Regions from separate parts of the Homo sapiens genome. Here all the other regions are linked to region 3. The links are contacts of gene promoters, found by promoter capture Hi-C in human tissues and cell types (Jung and others, 2019). All regions are on one chromosome and are shown on one strand. Each heading gives the region's core, a stretch centred on a gene start or on the middle of the fragment in contact. The rest is flanking DNA. Distances are from core to core; before and after follow the strand shown.

What was found. Contacts are between HindIII fragments. The study calls those that stand out against the background at their distance.
Region 1: a contact is called between a fragment that was not itself captured here and the fragment with the promoter of SSBP2 in region 3, in 1 of the 25 tissues and cell types used here (dorsolateral prefrontal cortex).
Region 2: a contact is called between a fragment that was not itself captured here and the fragment with the promoter of SSBP2 in region 3, in 1 of the 25 tissues and cell types used here (dorsolateral prefrontal cortex).

What each region holds. Positions count from the first base shown.
Region 1 is chr5:81,444,542-81,447,241 of GRCh38, forward strand. It overlaps SSBP2 (single stranded DNA binding protein 2), which reads right to left. Exons shown (of 17, transcript NM_001256732.3): 12 at 2,327-2,381. Among named protein-coding and RNA genes, the nearest start is that of ACOT12, 52 kb to the left of the region's middle. The HindIII fragment of the contact is 3,574 bases long and covers 1-2,700 here.
Region 2 is chr5:82,080,640-82,083,339 of GRCh38, forward strand. The region is part of intron 3 of ATG10 (autophagy related 10); the gene reads left to right. Among named protein-coding and RNA genes, the nearest start is that of ATG10, 110 kb to the left of the region's middle. The HindIII fragment of the contact is 3,849 bases long and covers 1-2,700 here.
Region 3 is chr5:81,749,670-81,752,399 of GRCh38, forward strand. It overlaps SSBP2 (single stranded DNA binding protein 2), which reads right to left and starts at 1,428. Exons shown (of 17, transcript NM_001256732.3): 1 at 1,312-1,428. The coding sequence starts at 1,373. RefSeq lists silencers at 290-449, 670-719, 1,160-1,209, 1,380-1,709, 1,980-2,329. The HindIII fragment of the contact is 20,998 bases long and covers 1-2,730 here.

The sequences.
Region 1 (2,700 bases), core at 12-2,511, 310 kb before region 3:
GACCGTGTCTTACTCATCTTGTGTACTAAAGACAATAAGTACTGCTAACTTAGATTTAACTGTTGGAATAAACTCAATCACACACAAGATTAACTTTAAAAAATCTTGGATTGCTTTTTAAACATAGGAAATCTTCAAATGGTTTTTCAACTGTATTGGCCTTACTCTTGGTAAAAGGAAGATGGGCTACATATTTTAAATGTGCACAAAGAAAAGAAATTTATCATTTTAAAGACTAATCAAGAATATAATTTCATCTGCTACAGAAAAAATTTGAGAGAGATAAGATTGGTATTTATGGCCAGGCGAGGTGGCTCACACCTGTAATCCCAGCACTTTGGGAGGCCAAGGCAGGTGAATCACTTGAGGTTAGGAGTTCCAGACCAGCCTTGCCAACATGGTGAAACCCCGTCTCTACTAAAAATACAAAAATTAGCCGGGCATGGTGGCACACTCCTGTAATCCCAGCTACTCGGGAGGCTGCAGCAGGAGAATTGCTTGAATCCAGGAGGCTGAGCTTGCAGCGAGCTGAGATTGTGCCACTGCACTCCAGCCTGGGTGACAGAGGCTCTGTCTCAGCAAAGAAAAAAAAAATTTTATATATATATATATATATATATATATATATATATATATGTATGTATTTACTGGAAAATGTCTGACTTCTATGTACAGAAAAACTTTACAATAAAGTGGATCTCCTGGGACCTCCTTTCTTGTGGGTGGGGTGCTGGCTGAGTATTAGAGGAGTGACTGTGACACAGGATGAACACATAAAAGAGTATGCAAAAAGACTAGGAAGATGTACTTGTGGCAATTTCTGGTTTGAAAGGAAGATTACTTATTGCCTGCAATGTTCAGTGTTGCTCCAAAAACTTTTTTTTAGTCTTGCAGTGAAGCATTTATTATTCACATGCTACCTTCATAAATTAAACATTAACTTCACCATATAAGAACATAAATATGGGCAAGATGATCAGTTGATATAATTCTATCTTCGATGAATTGTATCATTTTCAATGAAGATGCCTTCAGGACACAGACCATTAAATATCCAAGGAGTTAGTGAAGCAAAGTAAAATTTTGTATTAATTATCAAGTTTATGATTTTTCTAAATTGAAAGGGCTCAAAATTAAAAATTTTTATTGGTATGATCAATGATACTGAATTTCAAGCTTCTATCTTAATTTCAACAAGCCAGTTAAAAACATATGAGTTTAACAGTAAAACATCATAATCAAAAATACTTTATAATTATTAAAATTTCCCATCTACTTAATCATCCCAAAGTAATAACTGATAGAGTTTTAGCCTATTTCTTTGTTTTCTACTTTCTAGATTTGTGTTACGGTTTCAAATGAAACTGTGATTATATTGCATTGAATCATGAGATTTTATTTTTCCATGTCATTACAAATTCTTTGATAATAATTATAATGGCTCTATTATATTCTAACCTACACCTTAAACATTAATTTACTAATTCCACTAAAATTGAATTAGGCATGAGTTTGTGTCTACTGTTTTACTCTTGAGTATAACAAATGAGCATCCTTCTACATAAATCTTGGGTTGTATCTCTGTCATTTCTAGTATTAGAAGTATAGAGTCACATGGTATGAACCTTTTCATGGCTCTTGACACATTTTATCATAGCATTTTCTAAGAAGGGTGCGCCAATTTAGTCTTCCACTGTTAACAACCCCAAGACACATTTAATAGTCTGTGTGAAAGTCTCAAAAATAAATGATAAAACTATTTAAAGTAATTATATAAAAGGATTATGAAAACATTGAAGTATGTTTTAGTTTAGAAGATAAAAAACTTTTATTATTACATAGTGAATTTATAAGCTGACTAATAAATACTTATAGACATGTAGGGTAAATAATACTGTAAGTACTTCTTCATCCTTCATTCATCTTAGTAAGATAATAGATGTGGTGAGTCTGATTTGGCATTTTAAACCTAATGAATCCATGTATTTAATGTTTTATTTATTCAGAAATTTTCTAAATTGTAGAAGATTTGGTTAGTTTTATCAGTCTCAATAAATCTTTAAGTTAGACACATTTTTGGGCAATTCATATAGATCAACAGTGTTCATCCTAATTAAATCTGACACCCACACCATAGGAATTTTCTAAATGCTTAACTGGATAATACTTATTTAAGAACACTATATTTCTTCCTACCATGCTGCCTCTACTCCTTTAACTATCGTGAGAACATGAATACTACTAACTTTATTTCATGAACAATTTCTATATTCTGTGATTTTATTCTAATAATCAAATGCCCATGTGGCTAGTTTGATTACAATACCTGCTGGACTAGGCATGATGGGTGTTCCTGGTGGCCCTCCACCTCCTGGAGGACCCTAAATAATTATACAAAATTTCAGTAAAAATAAGGCATTGCATAAGAAAAAACAGAAGTTAGACTTATATCTATAATAATCCAATTTGAAAATAAGAGCAGAAATATATTTTCTCTAATTTATTTTCTTTGACTGCACAATCATTTCAATATTCTACAAAACATAATTTAGCTTAAATATGTTGAGACTGTTTTGACAAATTTCCAAAAACAATGAGCCTGTACCATTAATTCATTATTCATGACTTAATCATATCAGTTATAATGAGGTTAAGCAGAAATCATTCAACAGGGTCTTTACAAATCCATAAAACAGAAAT
Region 2 (2,700 bases), core at 98-2,597, 330 kb after region 3:
TTTTCTCAGGTTTGTCAAAGATCAGATGGTTGTAGATGTGTGGCATTATTTCTGAGGGCTCTATTCTGTTCCATTGGTCTATATCTCTGTTTTGGTACCAGTACCATGCTGTTTTGGTTACTGTAGCCTTGTAGTATAGTTTGAAGTCAGGTAGCATGATGCCTTCAGCTTTGTCCTTTTGGCTTAGGATTGTCTTGGCAGTGTGGGCTCTTTTTTGTTCCGTATGAACTTTAAGGTAGTTTTTTCCAATTCTGTGAAGAAAGTCATTGGTAGCTTGATGGGGATGGCACTGAATCTATAAATTACCTTGGGCAGTATGGCCATTGTCACAATATTGATTCTTCCTGTCCATGAGCATGGAGTGTTCTTCCACTTGTTTGTGTCCTCTCTTACTTCCTTGAGCAGTGGTTTGTAGTTCTCCTTGAAGAGGTCCTTCACATCCCTTGTAAGTTGGATTCCTAGGTATTTTATTCTCTTTGAAGCAATTGTGAATGGGAGTTCACTCATGATTTGGCTGATTGTCTGTTGTTGGTGTATAAGAATGCTTGTGATTTTTGCACATTGATTTTGTATCCTGAGACTTTGCTGAAGTTGCTTATCAGCTTAAGGAGATTTTGGGCTGAGATGATGAGGTTTTCTAAATATACAATCATGTTATCTGCAAACAGGGACAATTTGACTTCCTCTTTTCCTAATTGAATACCCTTTATTTCTTTCTCTTGCCTGATTGCCCTGGCCAGAACTTCCAACACTGTGTTGAATAGGAGTGGTGAGAGAGGGCATCCCTGTCTTGTGCCAGTTTTCAAAGGGAATGCTTCCAGTTTTTGCCCATCCAGTATGATATTGGCTGTGGGTTTGTCATAAATAGCTCTTATTATTTTGCAATATGTCCCATGAATACCTAATTTATTGAGAGTTTTTAGCATGAAGGCTGTTGAATTTTGTCAAAGGCCTTTTCTGCATCTATTGAGATAATCATGTGGTTTTTGTCTTTGGTTCTGTTTATATGCTGGATTACGTTTATTGATTTGCGTATGTTGAACCAGCCTTACATACCAGGGATGAAACCCACTTGATCATGGTGGATAAGCTTTTGGATGTGCTGCTGGATTCGGTTTGCCAGTATTTTATTAAGGATTTTTGCATCGATGTTCATCAGGGATATTGGTCTAAAATTCTCTTTTTTTGTTGTGTCTCTGCCAGGCCTTGGTATCAGGATGATGTTGGCCTCATAAAATGAGTTAGGGAGGATTCTGTCTTTTTCTGTTGATTGGAATAGTTTCAGAAGGAATGGTACCAGTTCCTCCTTGTACCTCTGGTAGAATTCAGCTGTGAATCCATCTGGTCCTGGACTTGGAAACTTCTGTTTTTAAAACCATCAGGTCTCATGAGACTCTTTCATTATCACAAGAACAGTGCAGGAAAGACCTGCCTCCATAATTCAGTTACCTTCCACTGGGTTCCTCCCATGACACATGGGAATTGTGGGAGTTACAATTCCAGATGAGATTTGGGGGGGGGGACACAGCCAAACCATTTCAGCAATCATTCAGTTTTCTTGATAGACTTTAGCTCCTGCCCTCTAAACATCTGTCATATGAAGATAAAAGGGTAAAATCAGACTGGCTTTTTTCCTAGACACCTTGGCCACAATGATTTATAACAATTCATATATTCTGGAGTTCAGTGTGAGAAAGTTGTTGAAATATGAGAAGAGTAATTCAGAAATACCTAAACACCTACTTTCTTATATCTTCAAAATTTGTTAAACCCAGAAATATCTCAGTAAATAGGCACTTAGGCTCAGTTTCTTTTTCTTTCAATTACTTGATTAACGTAATGTCTCATGGGCAGCTTCATTTTAAAGACCCTCTTGAGAGTCTTTGAACTTGGTTAATTTATTCTAAATCCTTCTTATATTTTGTGGCTGATGGACTTTGAGATTTTTTTCCCTTTTTAAAGTATACTACAAATACATTGACACTAAAACAAATTCTCAGACATTTATCCAACTGTTAGTAATGTTTCTTTTTTTTTTTAACTGAACTAAAATGGTTAGAAATTCATTCACTTTCATGAAATAGAAACCATATCAGGAAATATGGAAGACTGGTGTTTTAGTAAATAGAGATATATTTATAATTTTTCCAGATAATTCCAATCATGGTTGTCTTAGAAACTATGTTTGTAAACTAGATAAACAACTATAGTAGAAAATTAAAAAATACTGGGGGGAAGGTTCCAACATGGCCGAATAGGAGCAGCTCCATTCTGCAGCTCCCAGCGTGAGCGACACAGAAGATGGGTGATTTCTGCATTTCCAACTGAGGTACCGGGTTCATCTCACTGGGGCTTGTCAGACAGTGGGTGCAGCCCATGGAGCAGGGCGAGGCATCGCCTCACCCGGGAAGCACAAGGGGTTGGGGAATTCCCTTTCCTAGCAAAGGGAAGCTGTGACAGATGGTACCTGGAAAAATGGGAGACTCCAACCCTAATACTGTGCTTTTCCAAGGGTCTTAGCAAACGGCACACCAGGAGATTATATCCTGTGCCTGGCTCGTAGAATCCCACCCCTACGGAGCCTCACTCACTGCTAGCACAGTAGTCTGAGATCAAACTGCAAGGCAGCAGTGAGGCTGGGGGAGGGGCATCCACCATTGCTGAGGCTTGCGTAGGTAAACAAAGTGGCCGGGAAGCTCG
Region 3 (2,730 bases), core at 178-2,677:
AAAAAAAGGGGGGGGTTCTTCCTCAGTGATCACAGTCACTATTCGTTCTCATTTTTAGTAACAACCAAATCACCGTTACAAGTACACAAGAATAGCAGCAAACCGCTTTGCTTTGCAGTGTGCCGTGACAGTGGCATCCCGGGCCGGGAGGGGCTCTGTTCTCGCCAGCCGCCTCTTGGGCTCCCACCGAAGTTAACACCTGTATCTCCCCACAACTGTAACCAAGCGGCTCCTTCCCACCTGAACGCTTCTCCCCTCCCACAAACCCCTTTTCGGACCACTGGCCCTCCCCGCCACAGCTGCCCTCCTCGGGCGCCCCCGGCGGCTCCCACAACTCCCCTCCGCGCGCCCCCGACCACCGCCCCGCCGGGCCCGCCCCTCCCGCCGCTCGGGGGCTGCCAGCCTCACAAAAAGTTCGCCAGCCGCCGCCGCGGAGTTGGGTCCGCTGCGAGAGGCAGAAACGCCAGCCTCCTCCAGCGGATCCCGCTCCTCGCCAACACACTTTAGCTCCCCGGGAACTCGGTCCCTCTCCGACTCCCAAACTTCGGCGGCGTCTCCGGCGCCCACCCGCCCCCGCCCCCGCCCCAGCCCCAGCCCCAGCCCCGCGATGCGCGGGGGACTGCGGGCGCCGCGTCCGTAGCTGGCCCAGGAAAGCCCGGACGCCCAACCCGCACACGCCCTCCGCGCCCCGCGCGCGTCTCCGCGCCCCGCGGGGCCCCGCTCGGCCGCTCCACGCCCGGCTTCCGCCCGCCGCGCGCCCGGCACCGCCGCCCTCGCCTCGCCTCGCCCCGCGCTCGCGGCCCTAAGCCCCAGCGCCCAGGCCCCCGCCGCCGCGCTCCCCGCGCTGCCCGCCCCGACCCCGGCCCCGACCCCGGCCGGCCCGCCAAACACCCACATTCCCACTGCGCGCCTTCCTCCACGCAGCTGCCCCTCCCGCCACCCCCGGCGGCTCCCCAGGTCCCCGGAGCCCCGGACCCCAGCTCTAAAGTTACTTTGGAAGGTGAACCCGCGGGTTATTTCCCTCAATCACCCAAACAAGTTTCCATCCTCGCCACCAGCACCACCGCCGCCCCTCAACACACCCGGTCCCTCCCGCCGACAGCCCCCTGCGGCCGCCCGCCCAGCGCCCGCACCTCCCGGGAAAGCGCAGCTCCCCGCACCACACGCCCCCATCGCGGCACCCCTCCCCCTGCCAGCCCACCCCCGGCGCTCCCCGGGCGGAGAGTGTCTGTGTCTCCCAGAGTGTGCGAGTGCGTGCGTGAGTGTGCGCGCGTGTGAAGGCGGAGGTGGGTGAGAAGCGGAGACACTTACTTCTCCCGGGCCTGGCTGTCGGACGGGACGGCGCTGCTGTTACTCTTGCCTTTGCCGTACATGCTTGTGCCGAGAGCAGCTCCCACTGTCACGCACCTGTCAACCCATCACAGCCTCCCCGGGAACAGCCCCGTCCCCATGGCGACCCACGCAGCCACCCCCACTATTGGCCGCCCCACGCCAAAGCTCCGCCCCCTTCGCCCAGGCAACGCGCGAGACTGACAGGCCTCCCCCTCCCTCTGGCCTTCCGAAGCGCGCGGTGGCGGCTAAGCCTCAGCGGCAGTCTCCTCCCTCCTTCCCTCCCTCCCCGACTCCCTCCCTCCCGCCTTCCCTCTCCGCTCTCCTCCCTCCACCCGCTCTCCTTCCCCCTCCCCCCTCCGAACCCGGGCGCAAGGGGGGAATTAGAAACTGCTCTAGAAGGATTTTAAACAACTGGCTGTTCTCTCCGCCGCCACCCCTCCCCCCGCGCCGCCCGCGCTCAGCTCCTCACTGGAGAGAAGGCGCCGGGAGGAGGAGAAACTGCGGCCTGGAGTCTCCGGCCGGAGCCGGCGGAGCTGGAGCCGTGGCGGCCCCAGACTTCGGGGCGCCCGCCGAGTCCACGACAGAGCCACGGCCTCAGCCGCCCTGGGGCCCCCACCAGCCCCTCTCCCGCTCCTCTCCTATGCGTGACCCCGCGCCGGTACCCACGATTGATTTTTGCGGTCCTCAGCCCTACTCCCTGGGGTGTCGCCCCCGCCCTGTTCCCAGAGGGCCGGCTGGCGAGGGACACCCGCGCGGTTCCCTCGACCTTCTGGCTGAGCGACCGACAGCGACTCGCCTTCTCTCCTGGGGAAAGGCTGCACCTCCGGCCCTCGGCGCCGCTGCGGTGGCGGCGCCCGGGGCCGCGCCCTGCGCCCCAGGGGAGCACCCGGCCTGGGGTCGGCCTCCTCTGTAAGAGGTGAGCGGACCTCCCGAGGAGGCCCGGTGACTCCTGCGGCCGCAGCGGCCCCTGCCCCAACCCCTTCTTGCACGGAGCCCCGCGGCGCCCTGGACACCCCGCCAGATCTGCCGCAGAAGAGGGCCCCAGGCTTCCCCACCCGGCCTGGTTTAACAGTTTGGGTCAGTGATGCCTATTCATCCTGACCCCTGGAGTGGAAAAGGCCAGAAAAGGTCTTGAAAGACTTCCCTGTCCTTGCCCGTTAGAATAGGCCCCAGCGCGCTCCAAGGTGTACAAAGCTGTGCCAGGGCTGAAAGGCTGCCCGAGAATGTTTCTGTATCCAAATCCCTAATCCCATTTCAGTAAACGCGCAAAAGTTTCAGAAACACACACAATCTGGTTCCCAGTAGAACTCTGCATCATTTATCTTATTGAAGTCCTTGACTGTAAAATCAGACGGGTGCAAATGGGGTTAGAAAGAAGATGGGCTTCACACGGGGAAG